2 separate regions of the Homo sapiens genome follow, and region 1 is linked to region 2. Evidence: promoter capture Hi-C in human tissues and cell types (Jung and others, 2019). All regions are on one chromosome and are shown on one strand. Each heading gives the region's core, a stretch centred on a gene start or on the middle of the fragment in contact. The rest is flanking DNA. Distances are from core to core; before and after follow the strand shown. Region 1 has its middle 270 kb from the start of LINC02398. Region 2 holds the start of SLCO1B3 (solute carrier organic anion transporter family member 1B3).

Region 1 (4,695 bases), core at 2,133-4,632, 1.1 Mb before region 2:
ACATTTCAGGCAATGGAGTAAATTTTCCTGAGATTACCTCAGACTTACTTGAATTAGTAATCTGATTGAATTTTATTTGTTTTATGTGAAACATTCCCTGAGCATCTCCATTGCTATAGGGGATCCTGTTGGAAGAGAATCTTCTCTGAAGGGGATTTTGCGGGTAAGAAAGGGTTAAAAAGACCGGCGCGGCGGCTCACGCCTGTAATCCCAGCACTTTGGGAGGCCGAGGCGGGCGGATCAGGAGGTCAGGAGATTGAGACCATCCTGGCTAACACGGTGAAACCCTGTCTCTACTAAAAATACAAAAAATTAGCCGGGCGTGGTGGTGGGCGCCTGTAGTCCCAGCTACTGGGGAGGCTGAGGCAGGAGAATGGCGTCAACCCGGGAGGCGGAGCTTGCAGTGAGCCGAGATCCCACCACTGCACTCCAGCCTGGGCGACAGGGCGAGGCTCCGTCTCAAAAAAAAAAAAAAAAAAAAAAAAAGAATAATAGTGCTCCTGGTAGCCCAGAAGTTAATACCACACTATCCCACAGAGGAGAGTCAGTTAGTGTTTCATTGTGGCCTTCATCTACCTATTGATGCCAGTGTGGAGGCATGAAGTTATGCTTAAATCTGATATATGATTTTCCAAGTTAACTGTGTGTTCTTTCTTTCTTAATTAAACCCCGTCTATAGAGTTACCATTCAGGTTTCTGCTATTAAACTGAGGGATCTTTTGATGATTGACACCATTTCCTGCTGTACAAACACTCCAAATATTCTAGTTTTCTCAGAAGCTTTTAAAGAAAGACACTATCTACTTACCTTTGGACCCAATAGATTTGTAGCTTTTCGATATGGTAAATATTGTAGGATATATTTAAATTAAGTACTTATTTAGTTTGTGGAGTAATATTTTGCTATACTCATATGCTTTGTGTATTTTGGACACTTGGAAAAATGATTATTGTATTTAAGCTCCACACATCAAGTTATTGAAAAGCTCAGGGTTTTCATCAAAGCAGAATGTAGGTAAGTTTCATAAGTATTTTACTGTATAAAGTTTTAAAGACACAATTAGACAATTTAGGCCAGCAGATGGCACTCTTACCTTTGTCCTCATTTGAAGAGATGTTTGAGGTTGTGGCAACTTCTCTCATAACTAGATCTCAGAAACTGTTGAAAATTGCATTTTCCTATTTTTATTTAAACACAGTTTTATAAAAAAGCAATAAAGTTATTTTTACGTTGATAGAGAAAAGTGGATGAATGGACAAAACCATTTCTATAGATAGTCTGTTCAATTATTTGTTAGCACGTGAAATAGTTAAGATCCATATGGATGAAAAATGCTCTTACTGCAAATGCGTTCTATATTGTATAAGTGTCTTTTCTTTCTTATTTATGAACTCAGAATCTTAATCTGATAAATCCAGCTGGATGAACAATAGAATGAGAACAATGCTCCTCTTGTCTTTTGTTTCTTGGATTTCATATAATAGCTTGAAATCATAGGATCTTAGTGCTATAAAGAGCCTTGGAGATCATTTAGTTGAACATGCAAACTTTTAGGTGAGGAAACCAAGGCCCACAGAGGTGAAATGACTTGTCCAATTTGAAGGTAGAAATACTGCTTTTAGTTAAAAGCAGAAAACAGGACTCACTGTCTTCAGAGCAAAGCTGCACAAGAACCTTATGCTTTATAATTGCATTTTGCTCCGTTATTCTCTGACGGAATGGAAGGCAAGGGAGCTTTGGCCACTTGACTTATTGGTGGAGATCGATAAATTTGTCATGTTTCTTCTGCTTTTGCTTTTTTTCATAAAACTGCACACAGCAGCTAAGAATTCAGAAATGCCCCTCAGATATATCTAAATATCCAAATCAGGCAAAAAACATATGGTAGGAATCTTTTTTCGTGGTAATTACAAATTTAAAGAGGGATACACACATTTTTAATAAAGTTTAATTTAATAAAAAAGGGGCATACCAAGACTAGGGTAATCTACATGTTGCAGATATAAAATGTCCGAACTCTGAACTAGTTAACTGAGTAGTTAGTTCATTTGCAGTGGAGATATTTGTGGAACCAGGGAACATTCATAAGCAGTACGGGATTAGTAGGATAGGGTATCCAGTTGGTGTTCAAGAATATCAGTATACAAAAAGCATCTCATTTCTTTATTGTTATGAATCAAATTAAATATGGGTTATTCCATTTTCCTGGCTAGCAGGCTAGCAGGACATCCAAACTCAAGTTTTTTTTTCTTTTTCTTTTCTTTTTTTTTTTTTAAGGAGAACTTCCCTACTTCACGCAGAATGGGAAAAGACCCAAGGGGCTTAAATAAACCAGAAAAATTGGACCAGGGCCTCCATTCTCTGCCTTTGTTGATAGTCACTGAGATGTTTGTTGTTTAAGCTTGTGTGGTCCTTTTGGAGGCATTTCTCTTTTACCATTCACCGCCTTCGTGGGGCATTGACACAGAACCTTCACGCTGTGCAGGGTTCTAGACATTCACACAGAAGCTCTGCTACTTCTTAGGTGCTGTGAAGGTGCGTGTCCTCTACTCCCAACCTACCACCACTGCTCCAGAGTCCACCATCCCCAGCTTCCAGTCTCTGGATATCTAGCTCACTTCAGGGTCTAGTGGGGCAAAACGCTCCAGGCCCTTTGGGACTCTATTGCTTAATTTGCTCCAACGGGTCTGAAGCCAAAAATGGTTCCTCTTCTCCTGGGGAATTCAGAACACAAAAGGAAGTCTGACAGAAGAAAAAAAAATAATCTCTCTCTCTCTCTTTTTTTTTTTTGGACAGTGAGTTTTCAGCAAGAAGGATAGAACAAATTTTAATTTCTCAATAATGTGGCCTATTTCATAAGGCTACACTTTATTCTAGCCATACGTTTTTATGATGAGTGACAATACAGGAGGAGGTGAAAGGAAGATCCAAATTCACAGAAGCTGCTGCTTCTAAGTGTTGATACTAACCAGGTCCCTGAGCTCTTGCTGGGTAAAAAGTAGGTTACTTTTAAGTGGAACAACTGTTCAAAGTACAAAGACTGGAGTACGTGGGGGGAATAAAGAGCAGTGGTTTTTTCCCAGAGGAGCGGGCCTCTTCTACTAAGCAGCCAAAAATGTTTATTGCTGTTTAATGTTCTATTGCCAAACTTGATTTCTTTTCTTCTCAGAAACCTTTAACTTCCTATCAAATAGAATCCACACTTACTGCCTACTTTATGCCTTAGGGATCCTTGAGAATTTCCTAGGTTAATTTATGCTAAGTGCTATTAAGGCATCATCTAGACAAGTGAATGCCCTTCCCCCGCCTAACCATCTTTTTTTAGTTGTTTTTGATGTACCTCCTAGACTAGGACCTGAGATAAATGTAAACTCCTAGAAAATATCCCAGTGAGCGAAGCTTGTCAGGTCTATAAGGCAGAAGAAAAAGATTATTTCTGACATGACTGCCCATTTCTCCACATGGTGGTGTAACAGCGAAACTTGGAGTTGTTCTTCCTCTTCTAGCTCAGCCCTGATGGGTTCATACCCGCTTGTGACAACTGATTGGGTGAATCTCTCCCCAACAGCATGTTGGCAGGATGATGGTGTGGCTTGAAATCTGCCATGGTGGAATTATTTATAAAGAGGGGCAAAGACTACAAATAATAGCTGGTTGATAAACCAGCACACTACTACTAAAAAATCACATTTGAACCAGCTTTTTGAATAATTTATTAAAACAACAACAGCAACTGTAAGGACCTAAAGGCTTTTCATTTCAACTTTATGTGAAAAGAATACCTAGAGAGAGAGTTTGGGTGATTCATAATGGGAAGGCTATTCATTCCCCCTGCTTCAGCATATATTAATTATAATTTTAAAATTCCAACATCACTTTTGTTTAATAAAAATTAATTGCCTGTGTGCCAATGATAACATATCTTTAGAGCATGCCACAACTTTGCTCCCTTAAAAGAAAAATATAAGAAAATGAGCAAGAAAGTCTTTTGAGTTAATGTTTTAAGAAGTAGGTGGAGAGATAATGAAGAATACCATTTGAAAGCTATTGCAGGTGATATTTTTAGGAAGTTATTTGTACCTTAATGCTCATTGCTTCCCCCTAAGCTTTGCCAGCGATAACTCCTGTTAAACCTAAATTACTTTGACAATTATTACAGATTTTAAGGAATGTTGTGGTAAGCCTTAGGGAAGCAACTAGATTAAATGAAATAATATATTAGTGACTACAAAATGTATTGTTGAAGAAAAAGCCCCTTTCTTCCCCCAAAATCACCATGTCCATAAACAAGAACACCCTGAGTGTTATATCAGTATCAAGTTTGACTTTATTTTTATTAGAACCATGGCAATTGGCAAAGAAATTATTTTTTGTATAGTGCTGTCATATACATATTGCAAAGCAGGATTGTAAAACAACATATATTTATATATAAGTCAAGGATTCTGTTAAGCCTTCAGGAAGCTTAGGTATCAAGTAGTAGTTTGAAAAGCAAAAAATAAAAAAGGTATGAATGGTAGGAGGCTTTCTTTAAGATAAGGAGCCCTGAATCATTGCTGATTCTGTTGTCTCTGCAGTTGCTAATGTTCACGCTTCAAGGATTGTCAGCTACACCGCTGTAGAATCACCAAACAATGCCTCCAAATCCCTCAAGAAGTCAGCCATACAGCCTTCTAACTTTAGGAGCATCTCAT
Region 2 (4,689 bases), core at 874-3,373:
CCCACTTAATGGATGAAAGCATAGATACTTAGAATGGTGAAACAACTTAGGAAATTTATACTGCTGTCAAGTAGCAGAGACATTGGTATCAAAGTTTATCAAACTTCAAAGCCCATAATATTTCATCAGAACTGTGATGATTATTGCGGCAACAAACAGCAGATTGTTTTAAGCAAATTTGGAGTTGTATTGATCCACAGCTGTTAGCATAATATTTATCTTGAAAAAAAGTGTTGCAATGTGTTTCCTCTGACCACTCTTATTTTTTCCACAAGTCCCACAAAAAGGGAAGTCTAATTACTTACATAGGAAGAAAAAAGGGCACAGAGAATGCTCTTTGACTTCTGAAAACATTCCAGAATTTTACCACTGATAGCGTTAGTTTAGGGATTAGAAAGTTTCTCAGTGCATTTGTACTATTTTATCTTCATTCTATGCATGTATTTGTCCCAAATGAAATTGATGTGTCTTGAATGAAATGGATGTGTGAGGAGAAAACCATTAGCATGAGAATATCCAAACTGTCTTCCCATTCTGAATAAAAGAAAAGCCATAAAACTGATAATTAATGTTTAGTATCTCTGCTATGATGGTTCTCAAAAGCTGACAGTATGTAAAAATTATTCTAAGTGCTTATTTAAAAAGCATAATCTCCGAACTCGTGAATCAGAATCTCTTGGGTGTGGGGCTGGATCGCACTTTTGACAAAGGCTCCCCAGTAGATTTTGACTCAACAGAGGGGTGTTTGGGAGCCTATATCTAATTTTCCCTGCCCCAGGTCTACACTTCAGTGTTCCCCACATTTTCTAATCCTTCTCTCCCTCCACACTCCGGTTCCTTTCATTATTCTAATACTTCCATGAATTAACCAGGTATAGAACTAATCTAGGCTGGGCGCAGTGGCTCACGCCTGTAATCCTAGCACTTTGGGAGGCCGAGGTGGGCAGATCACGAGGTCAGGAGATCGAGACCATCCTGGCTAACATGGTGAAACCCCGTCTCTACTAAAAATACGAAAAAATTAGCCGGGCGTGGTGGCGGGCGCTTGTAGTGCCAGCTACTCGGGAGACTGAGGCAGGAGAATGGCGTGAACCCGGGAGGCGGAGCTTGCAGTGAGCCGAGATCGTGCCGCTGCACTCCAGCCTGGGTGACAGAGCAAGACTCCGTCTCAAAAAAAAAAAAAAAAACTAGTTTATCAAATAACTGTGATATAGAAATTAAATACATATTGCTGCAACTGTATCAACAACTGTCCTGTCAGTGATAAGGGGTAACAATGTTTTCATACATGCATTCTCTCTTTGCTATATACATACACACATACACATAAATACATATATACATACACTCATGCATGTGTGTGTATATATACATGTGAGAGAAGACTCCGTTTATTATTTATATTTTTATAGTACACTTCTAAAACACAGCCATGTGCCTGAGATATAGTAGGGAGTCAAATATGTTTGAGTTACTGAATTAATTAATTTGACTTCATCCTTACTCAAGAAAAGTTTCAACTGAGTGAAGGTCTTCCATTCTCTAAAGAGCAAGTCAATAGAAGGAGATCATTCTTCCTTTACACATTGATGTAAGGAATATATCATACAAACTAGTCTTGATTTTTGTCATTTAGAAGACTAGTCTTGTAATTAATTGGCAATTTAGTATTCCATGTGAGATATCCAGTGTCCATGTACGTCATATTAGATCCATACACATGTAACAAGCAAAGAGGGTATGTTTTATTTTTTGAATGCTAATGTAACATGTAGGGACATTTTAAAAAATCGCCTTGACATATTTTCTATTTGGAATAGTTTTAAATACTTTGGATAATGTGTTGTATTTGTATTTCTAAAGAAGAAAATCTTATGCAACCAACTTAATTGAATAAGAAATAAATCATTCCCAGAAATAATTTATTTTCTAATGTTAACATAATGTGTACATTCTGAGAAATTATTAATAAAATGTTTAAAAGATAGGCTTCTGGGGTGAACTCCTAGAATTAGCTAGGTATGTTTTTTCTGTTTGCCTAGGACAATGACCTAATAAGATGGTTAATCATCATTGGACTCATAAAAACAAACAAATAAAAAGCCAACTAACCATTTAAAGTGAGACTTTAACATCAGAAAAAGGATGGACTTGTTGCAGTTGCTGTAGCATTCAAAGTCAAGGTAAGAACCGTCGAGGTTGTCTAATTAAAACATTTCTTTTATGTAAGAAATTTTAACAAATTTCAGTGAAAATGTTTTTGGTAGTTATGATAAATATTACAGATTTTATGCTCTGTGTCTTCTCCACACTTTTGTTCTGAGCCCTTAAAGCCTTGTAAATATCCCTTCTAGAAATAGAAGAGCCTCAGATTTATATACTCAAAAATAAGAGTAAATCATACCTTTATAAAGTGAAAAATAAAGTTTGGAGTCCTATTTCTATTGCTTTCTAAACAAATGAAACATGAAGTCTGAAAGGATGGACTTCTAGTTACTCTCTTAAAATATACTATAAGATAATTATTTGTATAAACTGTATTGAATTACTATACCAGGCTCCCTATTTCTTTGATTTCACTTTAACTGGATAAGTAGGAGTGGGCGGGTGGAGGGGTGGAAAATATGTTTCAAAGTCACTTAATCACCTCACTTTCCTCCATTCAACTCGTTTGATTTAGGGTGAGGGGAAAGAGATTTTCTAGATAACTTTTTTATCTCTGTTCAAATAAGAGAAAAAAATCTTCTGGGCACAGCTCTTGGAAAGAATTAACAGCTCAATAAATAATGGTCCCCTTCACCCATTCAGGAAGGTGGCTTCCCTGATAAGACAGTTATTTTTATTGTGAAAGTAAGGTGGGGATGCAGAAATTCTCTCCTCTGAACAATCTAAGAAGTTAGGAAATGCTGTTTTCCCTTTTATCCTCCTCAGTTCCATAGGTACATGCTAGAAACTGGGTCACTTGGCCTGCACTGGTTTTCTATAACCCCTTAAATATGAAAAGCTAAACAGAAATAAGCAGAGGCTGGTAAGATTCTGCCCTCTACTTCAGCCCAATCAAACTGTGAAGAACTGACCTGTTCTGTTCAGGGAAGAGTTGCAATGCTGCATACAAATGCCTGTGGCTCTGTCTATAAACATATTGTGTCCTCAACATTTATTTATGTCAATAATTTGGAACTCAGAAATAATATGTTCAGAGCAAAATATATTAAACGCTTCTAAATAAGGCTTAAAATGCCACAATGAAGTAAAAAGTGTGGTATTTATTCAAGGCTAAATTGATATTCAAGTTTTGTAGGTACTTTGTACTTACTTGATACATTTTTTTTTTTTTTTTTTTGAGAAGGAGTTTCGCTCTTGTTGCCCAGGCTGGAGTGCAATGGCGTGATTTCAGCTCACCACAACCTCAGCCTCCTGGGTTCAAGTGATTCTCCTGCCTGAGCTTCCAGAGTAGCTGAGATTACAGGCATGTACCACCACACCCAGCTAATTTTGTATTTTTGGCAGAAATGGGGTTTCTCTGTGTTGGTCAGGCTGGTCTCGAACTCCCAACCTCAGGTGATCTGCCCGCCTCGGCCTCCCAAAGTGCTGGGATTACAGGCATGAGTCACTGCTCCCGGCCTACTTGATACAATTTAACCTTTCTGAGAGATGAGAAACCAAGTGCCCACATTTCTTATTTTTCTGGATGGGTATTTTATCTGAACATAAAAGAGAGAGGTGTGGAATAGTTGTCTTGGAAAGTACGGGAAATAACAGAAAAAAGTAATGATTATTCGGGTATGTTCTCCAGTGGTACAGAAGGATGAGAGGATGAGAGAGTTTATTTCAACTAGAGGTAAATAGGGAAACATTAAAGTGGTGTGATTTGGAGCCGCATTACAGCCAAGAGATAGGGAAGGACATTCCAGGAATGGAAGACATATACATGAAGGTAGAGAGCTTTTCTGTTGGGACAGTGGTTCCATACATCTGCAAGTGCTTATGGTTGTATTGGGAAATGGGACTAAAAACTTGGATTCATTTAGGCTGTGAAGACCCTCAAATAGGAAGTGTAAGTTTTATTTTTGTTGTAAGAGGGATCTTTGAATGATTCCAAGAATGGACATGATATGCATAGGAAAGAAAGCAAGCTGGAAGACAGGACAAGTAGAAATTAATCAATTGAAAGAAACAAGGCTTGAGTGGTGAGATAATAGTCTTCAAGCCTTCAAGAATATTTGTTTAGTATAAAGAAAAAGAAAACTCTAAAGCTGAAGGAAGACTATCTGCCTTGCAAGTCGTTCAAAAAGATTTGCAATTATAGAATTAATTGGTAAAAAATAAATATTTTCCAACTTTTAAATTATGAAGAAACAGAGATATTCGTGGAAAAAGTGGTGTAAATTTATTAAGGGGCTGCTTATTACCTTGAGACCACCAAATTATTGATTTTTTTCCTCACTTTACCTACAAAACACATACAAAAAGTGGAATAATTGAACTTCTCTTAGAGATACATAGGTATGGGTTTCTCCATTCATGAGTGTATTTATATACACTCGCATATACATAAGTGATAATATCTTCAGATATTGATTTTTCCATATTCATGCATTATCCACTAAATATGCATGATATATATTTATGGTTTTTATGCATTTATAATATAGAGAATCAATAAATCCTTGTTGAGTAAATTAATGC

The links. The method cuts DNA at HindIII sites, captures the fragments that hold promoters and counts their contacts. A contact is called where the count stands out against the background at its distance.
Region 1: a fragment that was not itself captured here is called in contact with the fragment with the promoter of SLCO1B3 in region 2 in 1 of the 25 tissues and cell types used here (dorsolateral prefrontal cortex).

The regions. Positions count from the first base shown.
Region 1 is chr12:19,738,311-19,743,005 of GRCh38, forward strand. No RefSeq gene overlaps it. Among named protein-coding and RNA genes, the nearest start is that of LINC02398, 270 kb to the right of the region's middle. The HindIII fragment of the contact is 3,582 bases long and covers 1,592-4,695 here.
Region 2 is chr12:20,808,582-20,813,270 of GRCh38, forward strand. It overlaps SLCO1B3 (solute carrier organic anion transporter family member 1B3), which reads left to right and starts at 2,124. Exons shown (of 16, transcript NM_019844.4): 1 at 2,124-2,183. The HindIII fragment of the contact is 19,974 bases long and covers 1-4,689 here.